5 separate regions of the Homo sapiens genome follow, and all the other regions are linked to region 1. The links are contacts of gene promoters, found by promoter capture Hi-C in blood cells and fetal thymus (Javierre and others, 2016). All regions are on one chromosome and are shown on one strand. Each heading gives the region's core, a stretch centred on a gene start or on the middle of the fragment in contact. The rest is flanking DNA. Distances are from core to core; before and after follow the strand shown.

Region 1 (2,848 bases), core at 152-2,651:
TTATTGCACACCGACTTCCTGCACACACCTGGGTTTGAGACACCTTCCCCGAGGGGTTACTCTAGCTAAGTTCCCGAGGCAAGCTTGAAAGAAGTTCGCTGTACCCCTACTCTCGGTCAAAGCACCATCAGCACATGTCGCTTGACAAGTTCGGCGGCAATGGAGTGATCAATTTACATAAACAACTCTGAAGAGATAACGCATCACTGCAAGGAGAGAAAGTCAGCAGGACGACTGTGCCCGCTCCGGGAAAGGCGGCTGCAAGGCTGGCCCGCGGGCAGAGCCTCCGCTGACGTTCACCGCAGCTCCCACCACGCAACAGGTCCACGTAGGCAAGGCCCGGGCGGCCGGCATCTGGGCACCTGCCCCTAGCGCTCCAGGCCCAGCTCTCCCCTGCGCCCATCTCGCGTCCACCCCCGCAGCCACCGCAGGCCAGCCGGCCAAGCCCACCCGCGATAAAGCACGGAGCACATTCCTCATTCCTCCCAAGATGCCGAGATAGTGCGGCCCGCTTGAGCGCTGCCCAGGTCACAAGGTCCTCCGGGACATGCCTTGACTAAAGGAGAGGCGCGCCCGGCCCTTGGTGGGGGAACGACCCCGGGGAGTGGAGGGGGGGAGGATGCAGTGCTCTGTAGCTTCCAGATGGAAACAGCCCGAATCACCCGGCTTCTCACCTGACCGGGCACAAGTGCCAGGTGTCAGTACCTAGCATGGATCTAAGTTACTTAACAGTCCAGAACGCTTCTCCAATAGCACGAGCCCCAGTGACTACGCGCAAAATATCCGGTCACTTTGAATAAAATGAAAAGGAACTTTTACTGGGAAAGGATGGAAGTAAAGAGACAGGGGGAGAAAGAAGCAGGTGAATGCATAAAAGAGGGAAGGTTCCTTCACGCCGGACCCGGAGATGGAAGAGGGGACGAGAGAGGATGGGAGCGGAAGGGACAGCAGACGAGCGGGCAGAGCGCTCAGGTGAGGCCGGACCCTTACCTCGGGCAGCTCGCGGAGCTGGTTGGCGTCCAGCAGCAGCTCCTCCAGGCTCCGGGCATAGCGGTAGATCTCCTCGGGGACGTAGACCAGCGAGCAGTGGCGCTTGTCGATGCTCTCCACATGACGGTTGCACCGCCACAGGGGGATGCAGTGGAACATCGCCGCCCCCGCCGCCGCCTAGCCGGGTCCCGAGCGGCGGAGACCCGGGCTCCGAGCCCGCTCTGGCCGGCGGCTCCGCTCAGTCCGCTGCCCTCTCCGCGCTCGTTGTTGGCTCTTGGGTTAGCTCGCTTCTCGCGCCGGGCTTCGCGGTCGGAAGTGCTTCAAGGAACCTGGAGCGGGAGCCCCTGCCCCGTCCCTGTACCCCCGCCCGCCAGCCGGTGCCTCCACTCCCACCCGCCAGTCGCCGTCGCCGCCCCCGCCGCCGCGCGGAGCTTCCTACTCGCAGCCGCCGCGCGGACTGAGCATGCGCGCCAGTGGGTGCGCGCCGAGGGCGTTTCCCGGCCCGAGGGATGCTCCGCTCCGGGTTTTCCCGGCGACCTGCATCCAGAGAGGGTCGACTGACCTGCGGGCCGGCTGCTGGCGGTCTGCTTACTCCGGCAAAGACGGGGGCGCATCGGGCCGTTTGAGGAAGGCAGACTGTGAAAGGACTTGGGACAAAGATGAGGCGGAGTAGAGGCGGCCTGAGCAGAGCAGAACAACTTTGATATTTAGTTTTATTTAACTCGCACTCCTCTCCTTGCTCCCCTTCCCCAAAACAACTTTCTCTTCCGGGGTCACACAGGACCGCCCCAAAGCGTACCTTGCGCGCCGGGGGCGCCAGGCGCTACTGGATTCGGTGTAGTTTTGAGGTGTTTGCACCACCCTCGCTGCTGCTTTCGTGGCTGCCCGTGTGCCCGCTGCTCACGGCTGCCCCAGAAGTGTGAGCTGGCCGCGCCCGGCCCTCTGGTCCTCGGGCACCGCCTGCAGGCTTTGTAACTTGGGAGCACATCTCTGGTGATCATGGTTTATGCAGTGAGTGATAGTAAATCCTCCTCCCTGTACCAGCAAAGGCATAGGAGTCTGAGAGTCTGCGAGATTCTCATAGATGTGGTTGCACCTGGCAAGGAGCCCAGCTGCAGAAATAAGCAGGCAAACGCGAGTTTCTGAGCCAGTTCCAGCCCGGCCCAGATGTTGGCCCCTGACAACTAGCTGTGGCTGGTGCGGAGGGAGGAGCGAGGGAAGAGGGGCAGATCGAGGCTGCCAGGTGAGCATCCTCCATACAGCTCCTGCTTTTCTGCTACAACCCCAGTCCCGTCCAGCCCGGATGACCGGGGAGGCTCACTATTGGGTTATAACAACCATTCCCTCGCCCCGACTCATTCCTGCGGACCACGGCCGGAATCCTGAACTGCCCCTCTTTGCCTGTAACTGTTTGCAACACAGTCCCCATCTCCGAATAACCAAATTTTCTCCTTTAATGAAGGGTTGCTAAAGTCAAGGTCAATCACAATGATGAATCATTTCCTTGGGGGCTTCTCTGATTCCCCACCCGGCCGCCCCTTCGTTCCACACTTTCCCTTTCAAGCATACTCAAACTCCAGGTTTCCACCTGCGGCCGCTGCCACGCTGGCTCTCCCACACTCACTCCCGCCCTCCAGCTGCTATAGCTAAAATCTGGAGCCACGGAGTTCACTTTTCTATAGAAGACAAAGCTGAGCATGCTCAGTGGCCAAGGCAAAGTTTGGTCGGAAACTAGTTTTTGCATTAGACTCTCCATGGGCTCCATAGACTCTCCTGTACCTTACGACTAGGCACAGGAGCGTTTCCCCGGTGAAATGGAGAAGAGGACACTTGGTCTTTTCAACTTTACTAGGAGGGC
Region 2 (2,848 bases), core at 250-2,749, 1.5 Mb after region 1:
ATTACCTCTTGCTATATAACGGCAAACAGTATCTTTATTCTAGAATTTTCTTTTTTTTTTGCCCGTTAATAAACATAAAAGCAAGCAGTCAAATGACAGCCTTTTTGCTTTGGCTAAGGATCGATTTATCTGCCCACTAGGATGGCACAAAACATACAGTAACTATAAACTGAATAATAACTAGAAATACATATACCCACACAAATAGATGGCCTATATATTTTGTTTAGGCAGATTATTCTTAGAATATTTATCAGTACATAGTGAGTCCTGAAGACTTTAAAACATAAGCTAATAGTTGGCTGAAATTTCAGATAAAGAATTATCAAATGTCTGATGTTGGGCAATCCAGTATTTCAGCTTCTTGTTCAGTAAAATTAAAAACACATGCTGGGGCAATGGGCTTGCTCTTTATTGTGCAGAGTGGTTACATGGGTGTAAGCACAGGTAAAAATTCACTGAGCTGTACACTTAAGATTTGTGCATTTTACTGTATATACATTATATCTCAAAATAAAACTAGAAATATAAGAAAAAGCCAACCACGACGGACTGAAAACAAACATACAAATTTGGACGTGCGATGATCTTTTAGTCATTATGGTTTCAGATTTGCTGTTAGTTACTGATTGATATTTAATCAAAGTGACGTGAAACACTTTTTCCCCTCTTGAGCTGATCGTTCAGTAAGCTAAGTTACTTAAAAGGATCTTGTGATCTTTTTATAAGACCAGAAAGCCTTTAATTTACCTGTTATTAAGTAAGATGGAGTAGTAACGGTTTCCAAAATTTGTATAACACACGATGAAGTCTCTAGGGGGCAGGGTAAACACAGATTTTTTTTTTCACTTCATCCTTCTCTGCGGCGATGTCTTTATGGAGTTCGTCAGGCAACGGTATCAGATAGCAAATGGGTTTTTAACTAATCTTTCCCTAAGGTACTGTAGTTCTATATTCTATCCTATAGATTCTCAAAATCCACTTTTACACTAGGATGCCACTGGAGGGCAGTTCTGATTTGGATATATCTTAAAAATGATTTGCTTTTATGTTTTCATCTCCCTGCGTTATAAAGCACCATCCTCTGAATTTGGTCGTTGCATCGGGTCAAAAGTTCTGCAGCTTGAAAAACCCTGCAAAAACATCCGGAAAGGAGGGAGAACACTACAACTCCCAGAACGCAATGCTTTCCCTCTCGCCAGCCTGTCCCCTCCAGCTGCTCAATGACCAGCCTCTGTGAGCCTCCTCTCAGCCCTATTGGTCAGTTTGCTCGTCAGTGAGTGAGGCGGAGGGAGGGGAGGAACAGAGAATCCCGGATGGTACGTTTCCCGCCACCGCGGGGCGCGCAGCGGAAAACCCGAAGAAGAAGAAGCTTTTGATTGGACAGTCGCTAGTCCGACCTCAGAGAACTCAGCCAATCATAATGCTTATATGCTCCCAAGGTCCCCGCCTCTTCCTCGAGGTAACCTTTGGTGGCGGGAAGAGTTCGGAAGTTTTCGCGCCGGGGTGGAGTCATCCTGGGAACCTCCACGCGACTTTGGTGGAGGTAGTTCTTTGGCAGCGGGCATGGCGGGTACCGTGGTGCTGGACGATGTGGAGCTGCGGGAGGCTCAGAGAGATTACCTGGACTTCCTGGACGACGAGGTGAGGGAGGCGCCGGCGCGCGGGCTCTAGCGCTCGGAGCCCCTGCGGACGCGGCCCGGCCGGGAAGCCAGAGGCCCGCCAGACCTCCAGACCGTGTGCCGCAGCGGAGCCTGCCGGGCCCGAGCCTCCAGCCCCAATCTTGTAACTTCTCAACGCCGGACTCGCTAGTTTGTGTTCGATAAGTGAACTCTTAGGAAGCCAGCTTTCTCTTAAGTACAAGCGATGGTCCGGGCGCGCAAAAGGCGACAGGTTCCCATTAAGTGCAAGCAGATTGGCAAAGCCCACCTCGGCCTTTTGCATTTCACTGCTCTCTCTTGATTTGAGGAGACTGTGGGGGAGGGGCTGCCCTAGGGCTATAGTGACCAGCCGCGTTGCAGAGTGCTCAGATTTTAGGGACTGACGTTTTACCTGGAGGAAAAGACTCCATAATTCGGCTGCATTCTTTTTCAATACCAACTAAGATGCAGATAAAAAGTGTTTTGTGTGCAGGCCAAGGGGATTTTATGTGCAACCCAAGACTTAAAGCCATAGAATGTTGAAAAAACCATCTTGAAGGGTTGATGATGTGACCAAATAGCTGAGATTCTCTATTCCTTTAGGTCGGGGTATGAGAACCCTTTCCGTATTATAGAGATGATTGGAAAAAATATTACTTTTTACATAATTCTTAAATGAAAAGCCATTTTAATGTGACTATTAAGAGTCTGTTTTATTTACATTTTTATTGTATATATTTGAAGTGCACATGTTTTGATATACATGGTGAAATGATTACTACAGTGAAACAACATATCCATCTATTCACGTTGTTACCTTTAACATTCACATTGCTAGGTTTAACTTAACATTTTAACAAAGTTTGCACTTACTGTCCATTTAGACTTCTCATGAGCTCATTTTAATTCTCCACTAAAGACAGAAATTACAGCATGCAGAAAAGTTGTCCATGATGATGGGAATAACAGCATGGACCTTGAGGAAGTCATTATAATTCTTATAGTCCCCTCTTAGGGTGTTATTTCGAATCTAAAAACAGTGAATGAAAGGGAGAAATTGATGAGCACATACTTACTGGGGATTCAGCTCTGCTGCAGAGATTGACTTAGCTATCTGGCTATGAGAACTACTTCTGTTTAGAAACATTGTTTTTAAATTTGTGGCTATGGTGATATGTGGTGGCTGTTTTGCAGGAAGACCAGGGAAT
Region 3 (2,848 bases), core at 166-2,665, 1.4 Mb after region 1:
CTAGCCAAGGGCTTCTCAGCACTACTGATGTTTTGAACCAGATAACTGTTTGTTGTGCGGGGCTGTCCTGTGCATTTTAGGATGGTTAGCAGCATCTCTGGACTCCACTCATTAGATGCCAGTAACATCCCTCCCCCTCCAGGTATGACAATCAAAAATGTCTCCAGACACCACCAAATTTCATCCTCTGGGGGAAAGGGGCAAATTCACCACCCACTTCTCCCCATTAAGAATCACAGCTCCAGGCTGGGCACAGTGGTTTACGCCTGTAATCCCAGCACTTTGGGAGGCCAAGATGGGCAGATCACGAGGTCAGGAGTTCGAGACCAGCCTGACCAACATGGTGGTCAAAAATTACAAAAATACAAAAATTAGCTGGGTGTGGTGGTGCGCGCCTGCAATCCCAGCTACTCAGGAGGCTGAGGCAGGATAATTGCTTGAACCCAGGAGATGGAGGTTGCAGTGAGCCGAGATTGCGCCATTGCACTCCAGCCTGGGTGACAGAGGGAGACTTCATCTCAAAAAAAAAAGAATCATGGCTCCAGTCTAAGCCACAATGTATATTGTTTCCTGGTCCTTTACAAGTACATAAACCGCTACTCAGAAGACAGAGCAAAAACCAAACACAACATTCCAGGAAAGTTTCGTATAGCAATAATACCACCCCATCCTGCAGATATACTTTGTAATTCACTAATTATAGCTATTTTCTCCTTTTATGGCCTCTGAGTACATATTGGGATCTAATTTTGAAAGAGTTAATCCACCTCAAAAATATGAACACTATTGAGAGATCCACCTATTTACCCTTCTTTGAGAAATTGAAGGAAAATATCATGTAGTAAAATCCATATGAATTCTTAGCTCCACAGGCCATTAGGAGAAGAAGCTTTTGTTCCTGCATCATTGTAAGAGAGCACATGATGTGAATGAACTTCTGAAGGGCAAAGCCTGTGTCTCAAGCCTCTCCATCTCCAGCACTTGCTTGCCTAGAACAGAGAATTCTCACTAAATGGTCAACATTTCATGAAACATTAACTATTTCATAGCAGCCCCTAATCATCTGATTAAAATTAAGATGAAACTTTCCCATCTTTCTAATATATGTACATATATATATAAAATAAAATTTATAAACTTGAAAAAAAACTAGTGTTGACATTTACAGAAGAGCTGAGATTTCAGTGCCAGGCTATTCTTCCCTATTGTTTAAAAAACACAGCAGAGCAAAACTCACATTTGGAATGAAGGGAATGTTTACCAGAATCGTCTCTTTCAATACGTGCCAAGAGAACTGTAGCTGTTTCGTTAGAATAATATTTTCATTGGATGAAGGGAAAAAAATTAGAGAAGAGGCTTTTAAACTTTTTTCTTTCAGATTTGCCTTACCACACCAAACTGTTATACATAATATACAATCATAACAGGAATGCTCATTTAAAAAAAAAATCTGAATTCAAAAGAAAGTAACTGGGAGCACTGACTCCACTTATTTGGAGTCTGTATTTCCTCGTTTCTGAATAAATAAAAAATAACTAATTGTCGTTGCTTTTCAGGTTACCCTTTAAAAACTCTTAAAAGACCAGGAGGGCAAAAACCAAAATGTTCTATTTGTAGTTAGTTGCAAAACCTAACTGAAGGGAATATCATTACCTGGGAAATGATAAATTTCCACATGGCTTCAAAGGAATTTTAACATAAGACTATCAATAAATAATATTCCTAACAAGAATAAGTAGACTCTGTTGAGCACTCATGATGTGTCCGGCACCGAACTCAAGTGTTCTACACGCATCAATGTTATTTCATCTTCATCACAGCCCCATGAGGTACATACTCATTAATATCTTCATTTTAAGAAAACTGAGGCCAAAAGAGATGAAACAACTTGCCCCAAACCACAGCTAGATCAAGATTCAAGCTGTGGCTGTATGAAGCTTTATGCAACACAACCTGAAAAAAAAAATGCGAATTTTAAAAAGGGATATGTTCAGTACATTTTTTACTGTGTGCCATGAAATCCCAAAGTTGAAATGAATGTTCAGAAATCATTCTCTTCCCTTTACTTCTGTGGATCCTTTCACATCAAAAATCAAGCACCAGGCATTACCTACAGCTGGGGCAAATGGCTTTCTGGGTACCTTTTTTTTTTTGGTGAGACAACAAGTCTTTTGTATTTTTGTTTTGCTTTCTGTAAAAATCCACAATGACAGAGACTGCCTAGTAACAAGTATCAGGAGGGGCAAAGAAAGGCTTACTTTTTCTAGCCCAATAAGCCATAAGCTATAACAATAAAGTGACAGGACCAATTACTTTACATACATACCAGAGCATAAACACCAAAATGAAGGTTGTGCTTCAAAGTAGTTAAGTTTTTGAGGAGTTAAATGTTGTACTCAAAATTTCCACTGTGGAGATGATGGGAGCCCCTAACCCCGGTGTTATTCAGGGACCAACTGTAATTCCTTCCAATCCTAAATACATACTCCATGCCATTACTAAATGCCCCTTTTAGAACTGCCAGTCTTTCAAGAGAATTTTCATTACTTTAATGAGCATACTTATTGACAACCTCGATTCCCCACCTCGGAAGCCCAAGTTGGCCCCGCACAGTGCCTGGCTGTTTCCCAGCTGAGGAAGGTTTGCCACCACTGAGGCAATCAGGAAATGTGTTGCAAACTCGGAAGGCAACTCCAAAGCAGGAGCTCCAAAATTATTCTCAGTAGTGACAGCATCACTAGAATTAGTACACAGCTTGCCAAGAGCAGGCTTTTGAAGGGGAGAAATACTGATTTGAATGTATAAATACTGGCATATTTATTTTAACATTTGGATAAAGAATTGGAAG
Region 4 (2,848 bases), core at 199-2,698, 1.4 Mb after region 1:
ACATAAAACTGAAAAGTCCACTGAAACTAAAAATCTATGATGTTGTGTCTTAATGCAGGGATAATTACAGAGATTCAGAATACAAATTCTCTCACCAAACTTTCGATTTCATTCTAAATTGATTCTTCCAAAGAAAATAAATTGACAAAATATTTTAACTTTGTGAAGCTGGAGAGGAAGGCAAGAGTTTAAAGTATTAAACTATATAAACATAAACTACTGTTAGCTCATCTATGATGATCAGTCTACTGAATCTCATTATTGATTTTTCAGCACATACATTTCAGTAGCCCTGTCAGAATTAAAACAAACCAAATAATTTTAAGAGCTAAACTGTGGCAAGAGTTTAAAAAAAAAAAAGAATCCAAGCTGCTGCTACTTTTTAAAAAATTTTGTCTAGAAAATGCAAATAAAAACACAAGGTTGGGGAAGGAGCAAAACAAAATCTAAACAGGAATCTTTTTACAAAAACGTTAGAATAAAAAGAACAGGGCCGGGGAAGAATAAACAGCAACTAATCAATTCTTGAGGGAACTGGAAAGGAATATCTCTTACAAAGCAGGGAAAGATGCTTTGGGAGGAAGGTGAGCAAGTTTTGGGGAAAACCCGCAACGGAGAAAGAAAGGAATGGGGAGAGGATGGGACTAAATTGTGGAAAATGTAGAAGATGGAGAAAAAAGAATGGGGTTGGATGCAAGCATAAAGAAGAAAGGAAAAAGACCTGGCGGAAAGAAGAGGAGCGGAATCGATATACATACAAAACAGGAAATGGAGCTGGGAGTGGGAGATACTACCGGGTACAGGATTCAGAAGAGGAAGAGGTGGGGCGGGAATGACGGACCTGTGGGAATGAGGTTGAAGGTGCATAGTGGCGGGGGGTTTTAAGGGCGGCGATGGACGGAGACAGGTTATGATGTGAGAGAACGAGCTAGGGAGAGGGCCCAGAGATAGGTTGGGAGTAGGGTGGGGGAAACAGTGATCTAAAGGGACAAGAGGCAGGGGCTTGGAGGAGCAGGGCCGTAAGAAAGAACGCGGCTAACGGGATGAGAATGAAGGCGCCAACACACTGCCAAGATGGAGTGGGAAAAAACTAGAGAGGGATGAGGCGGAGGGCAAAGGATCGGAGAGAGGGGATGAGGATGGCTAGGGAAGAACGGCAGAAGTTCGGCCCAGAATAAAGAACAGGGTCAGGACAGAAGACGTGTTTGGAGAGAAGACAGACTTGAGTGGAGGGGAATGGAGGTGCACTGAGCGGGGAAACCTCCTGGGCTGCTGGAAGGTGGGGACAGGTGGGAGTCTGGCAGATAACTGCTCACCGTAGAGTCCTTAAAGGACGTGCCCGGAAGAAAGGGCAAGCCATGCACGGGATTGGACACCATTGCAGCCGGTACCACCGCCGCCACCTAGGTCCTGCTTCGTCCTCTCCGGTTGCCCAGGCGACAAGCAGTGTTCGCGGGCACCTCCAGGATCCATGGTAACGCTAAACATCCGGAACTCCCACGAGCGGAAGGCGGGGCCAGGAGGCGCAGGCATCACAGGAGGTTTGCGCGTGCGCCATCCGCAGGACTCCGCGTTCTCGCGGTAAGTGGGCCGCGGCCTTGGAGCGCGGCTAGTGGGCGTGGTTGTGTCGGCCCCTCCTCTTCCGCTTCGCCCCGCCCCGCTCCCGGAGGATGAGACGTGGGAGCTGTTGGGTGGCGCGGGGAAAGGCGGGTGTAGCGAGGCGGTAGTTCTCGCTGTGAGATCCGGGGTCCGAGCAGGCCCTTAGATGAGTTGCAGAGAGGGACGTTCCTTCTCTCCTTCCACCTAGTCCTGGCGGACCTCACTGCGCCCCGCCAACGCTGTGAGCTCAGGCACTCTTTTCTCCCCCCTCTGCCCCATTTCACACAGAAGTGTAAATGGTCGGTCCAGTTGGCAGTGCTACTAAACTAGACCCATGCTTCTTGTAGGCAGGGGCCGAGGATTACCCATGATTGTGTTTCTGTTGCTCAGGGATGGTCAATGAACTAATGCAATCATCTCATCCTTAATTCTCCCACTGCCACATTGTATTTTTCCCCTTTTAACTCTTTTTTAAAATCAATCTTTCTCTTTCTTTCTTTCCTTTCTTTCTTTCCTTTCTTTTCTTTTTCCTTCCTTCCTTCCCTCCTTCCCTCCGTCCCTCCTTCCCTCCTTGCTTCCTTCCTTCCTTCCCTACTTCCCTCCTTCCGTAGAGATAGTGTCCCACTATGTTGCCCAAGCTGGTCTCGAATTCCTGGGGTCAAGCGATCCGCCCACCTCGCCTCCCAAAGTGCTGGGATTACAGGCATGAGCCACCGCGCCCAGCTCTCTTTATTCTACCATCAATCCCTTCGGTTAAACACCTTTGTTTTTGTAGGGAAAGCCTTGAATATGTGCTGCAGGGCAGGGTGCACTCTGATAGGTACTTGATTTTTGTTGACTGAAGAGCTGCAGGTTGAAGGGTGGTCACCTCAATCCCTCGTTTGTACCTGCAGCTGCAATGAAAAAGATCAGAACCACTAGGAGGAACACAGCTCCTTCAAAGAGAAAGACTAAGTCTTGGGAAAGAAGCAGATAAGTGAGGTGAAATATTGTCAGCATCATAGGTATAGCCTTTGATGCTTTTTACAAAACTTGCTTAAATTATTTTTTCTTAAAAGAAACATAATCCTATTCCTGAAACATTTTTTTTGGGGGGGGGGGGAGAAAGCTATCCATCATTGCTGAGGAGCTTAAAAATAAAAAGTAATCAAAACCCACGTGCCGAGAGATTTGGATTCATTAGGTCTGACATGGAGGCCAGGAATCTGATTTTTGTAACAGGCGTTTGTGACAAGCCAGTTTAGGAACA
Region 5 (2,848 bases), core at 129-2,628, 1.1 Mb after region 1:
TCTTTGGGTGTTTTTCTAATCCTTATATGTGAAGCATTTAGTGCAGGGGCCCAAACAGGTACTAAATGTCCACTCTCCCCTTCCTGGACCACTCCCGCCCATATATTTAATACTTTTCACTTCCCACTTAATCCATACAGGAACAAGTTCCTAAACTCTGCTTCCCCCAGTGCACTTGGCCACATGCAGCTCAGACAAAATGATCATGATCCAGGAATGCCTTCTCTTGGAAATGCAATCCTGCACACACAGACCTTTGATGGAATACACAGCTTACCTTCTCTACGGGGGCTGCAGCTTTCAAGATAGCAAACGTCAACCCTCTTGGTCTTCCAGTGTTGGGATTCATTTTGGGGGATGGTCCACGACCTCTTCAATTGTGGTGAAACAGTCTTTTGGGTCCTTTTTGCTGGTATCCCAGCTCTGGTTCATTGGTGAGACGAACGGTAGGGTGAGACACATGGCCACGAGAAGTCTTACGACAAAGCCATGCGCTTAGAAAGTCTTACAAGAAAGGCAAGAGTTTGGGAGGGCTGGATTTCCCAAAGCTTTCACTGGGAGGATTACAAATAAAGCTACCACCCATGGCAAAGTGTCTACACCCACCCACTCTGGGTCTGCAAAGATTCTACCTCCGACAGCTGTTCACAAATCTACTCTACCTCCTTACTGAGATCCACCTTGGTCCTAACAGAACTTAACATCACCACAAACCCCCAGGGTGGGAGAGGAAAAGGAAAGGCAACCTCTCAGGGCGCAGGCCCCATGCACTCGTCACAGGTGGAAGTTAGTCTAAAAACCCTCTTATCAAAGGGCTGTCGTCTCTTCTATCCCTGTCTTCCCCGGCGCTTAGGTGTCGCTCTCAAGGAACTCGGTCTTCCTGGGCAGAGCCCGCGGTCAGATCCTGACTCCGAGCCCAGGTGGAGGGAAGGAGAGAAGAGGAAGGGAGGGATGGGAAGCCTTGCCCGGGTCGGAGCGCACATCCTCCTCCCGAGTCTCCGCTCTCTCCCCTGGGCGGCTCCTGGACGGCGCAGACGTCGATCCCACAGGTCCAGCCAACTCCCACAGCACCTGCCCCGCGTCCCCCTAGTTCTTGCCGCCGTTCTGGTTGGCCTTGGCGCCGTTCTGGCCCCGCCCCGGCGACCCGCCGTCGGCGGCTGCCTCGTATGGGTTCTCGGTGGCGCCCGTAGTCCCCAAGACCTTCTTCCTCTAACTTGCTTCTAACACACCCGGCAGGGGAGCAACCGCCTCAGCCTGGGACAGCCCGGCTTTGTGGGAGCAGCGGGCGCGCTTTATAAGGTCCGAGTTAGGGGACGGACCCACCTTGCCCAAACTACATGTTTATTGGCTAGTTTTGCCTGACACTCAGCCAGGCACCGCTGTCCCATTGGCCGCGCTCTAAATCCCGCGGATTTGTCCTCTAGCAACGTCTCAGAGCCAGGACCCTGGAGAGGGTCCAAGAGATCCCGCGGAAGGATTGCAGGGGCAGGTCCAGGGCCAAGAGGCTCCCATGCGCCCTCCGCCCGCCGAGCCCGCAGCCTCTCGACCCCGCGCGTCTGTGTCAAGGCATGGCCAAAGTGAGAAAGAGCCAAGACAAAACAAGTTCAAATAGCAATAGCAAAACAACCAAAAGGAAATTCAAGGAAAGCAAATATAAATGAGAAAAATATAATTAAGCAAAAATGAATGTTCGCAAAGGCAAGACAAAAAACCAAGTCAAGGAGTAGGTTCAAAGAAAAGATGAAACGTGAATATAATTTAGGATATTTATACCGATTCCTATTGAAATCTCGACAAGTAAAAATTTTACTGTCAGTGAATCAAACTTTCATCCTTCTTGCCTTTCCTATGAAAGGGCAGCAGGGGGCACTAGATGCTAGGGTTTGATTCGGCTAGGAAAGGCGTTTTAGCACGTTATTTGCAAACACAAAATAGTGTTCTGTTAAAGTTCAGAGATAGTTATAAAAGTTAACAGGAAGTGGGGAAACTAGAGTGATGGTCTACAATCTGGGATGTTAAAGAGACTGAATACAGTCACAGGTTCTTAGTTTCTGTTTCTGGCTGGGCCAGTAAAGCCCCTTCCTCATCCCTCTTTTCAGCTTCATTAGAGACAGAAACTAAAAACCACGGCTTCAGGCTGCTAAAAGCCTAAAACAAAACAAAACAGAACAACAACGACAACAGAATAAGGCGGGTTGGACAAGCTTAGTACATAGAAGAATGTGCGAAAAAGGTATATGATTTCTGTACACCCTGTTGGCTAAGTAGTACAGTGTCCTGAAATACTGGGAGGGTGGCAATTACAAAGAGTAAGGGGCAGTTTTTCAGAGGTGAGCTCTGAAAAAGATGCAGGACAGTGGAGAGTGACCACCAGGGCGCCAGGCTGACTCTCTGTCCTCAGCCTGCCATATGGACCCGTTTTGAACTTTTACCAAGGCCATGGGACTTTCCATGCTAAAACCAGGACCGAGGGTTTCCCAGACAAGGGACTTTCCTATAAGCAATAATGGTTACAATAACAACAACAACAAACAACAAACACTTAATGAGTACCTATTGTGTGCCAGGAACTATTCTAAGCATTTTACAAGTATCAACTCTTAATCTTCACAACAACCCTTGAGGTAGATACTCTATCCTCCCTACCTTACAGAGGTGGAAACTGAGGCAACTCACCAAAGGTCATGCAAACAGCTAAGAAGTGTCAGATCCAGGCTTTTTGCTTGTTTTTTGTTTTTGTTTTTGTTTTGAGAACGGAGTCTCACTCAGTCTCCCAGGTTGAAGTGCAGTGGTGCGATCTCAGCTCACTGCAACCTCTGTCTCCCAGATTCAAGCGATTCTCATGCCT

The links. The method cuts DNA at HindIII sites, captures the fragments that hold promoters and counts their contacts. A CHiCAGO score of 5 or more calls a contact.
Region 2: the fragment with the promoter of MCM3 here is called in contact with the fragment with the promoter of LRRC1 in region 1 in 2 of 17 cell types (total B cells and naive B cells); the score reaches 8.4 in total B cells.
Region 3: a contact is called between a fragment that was not itself captured here and the fragment with the promoter of LRRC1 in region 1, in 1 of 17 cell types (fetal thymus). The highest score is 5.7, in fetal thymus.
Region 4: a contact is called between the fragment with the promoter of EFHC1 here and the fragment with the promoter of LRRC1 in region 1, in 2 of 17 cell types (naive B cells and total B cells). The highest score is 6.7, in naive B cells.
Region 5: a fragment that was not itself captured here is called in contact with the fragment with the promoter of LRRC1 in region 1 in 1 of 17 cell types (total B cells); the score reaches 7.1 in total B cells.

What each region holds. Positions count from the first base shown.
Region 1 is chr6:53,793,558-53,796,405 of GRCh38, reverse strand. It overlaps LRRC1 (leucine rich repeat containing 1), which reads right to left and starts at 1,401. Exons shown (of 14, transcript NM_018214.5): 1 at 991-1,401. The coding sequence starts at 1,149. It overlaps LOC124901333 (a long non-coding RNA gene), which reads left to right and starts at 2,731. Exons shown (of 5, transcript XR_007059619.1): 1 at 2,731-2,848. RefSeq lists an enhancer at 617-1,329 and silencers at 1,296-1,535, 2,581-2,710. The HindIII fragment of the contact is 4,441 bases long and covers 86-2,848 here.
Region 2 is chr6:52,283,393-52,286,240 of GRCh38, reverse strand. MCM3 (minichromosome maintenance complex component 3) reads left to right here and starts at 1,499. Exons shown (of 17, transcript NM_002388.6): 1 at 1,499-1,644; 2 at 2,835-2,848. The coding sequence starts at 1,567. RefSeq lists enhancers at 1,022-1,221, 1,542-1,621. The HindIII fragment of the contact is 4,216 bases long and covers 1,375-2,848 here.
Region 3 is chr6:52,364,440-52,367,287 of GRCh38, reverse strand. All of the region lies in intron 1 of PAQR8 (progestin and adipoQ receptor family member 8), which reads right to left. Among named protein-coding and RNA genes, the nearest start is that of PAQR8, 3.7 kb to the right of the region's middle. The HindIII fragment of the contact is 1,048 bases long and covers 892-1,939 here.
Region 4 is chr6:52,418,942-52,421,789 of GRCh38, reverse strand. EFHC1 (EF-hand domain containing 1) reads right to left here and starts at 1,448. Exons shown (of 11, transcript NM_018100.4): 1 at 1,317-1,448. The coding sequence starts at 1,379. It overlaps LOC124901331 (a long non-coding RNA gene), which reads left to right and starts at 809. Exons shown (of 2, transcript XR_007059611.1): 1 at 809-1,581. RefSeq lists an enhancer at 888-1,479. The HindIII fragment of the contact is 6,560 bases long and covers 1-2,848 here.
Region 5 is chr6:52,662,849-52,665,696 of GRCh38, reverse strand. LOC730101 (a long non-coding RNA gene) reads right to left here and starts at 1,296. Exons shown (of 3, transcript NR_024405.1): 1 at 278-1,296. RefSeq lists enhancers at 721-840, 1,212-1,506, 2,438-2,537 and a silencer at 1,212-1,506. The HindIII fragment of the contact is 1,656 bases long and covers 551-2,206 here.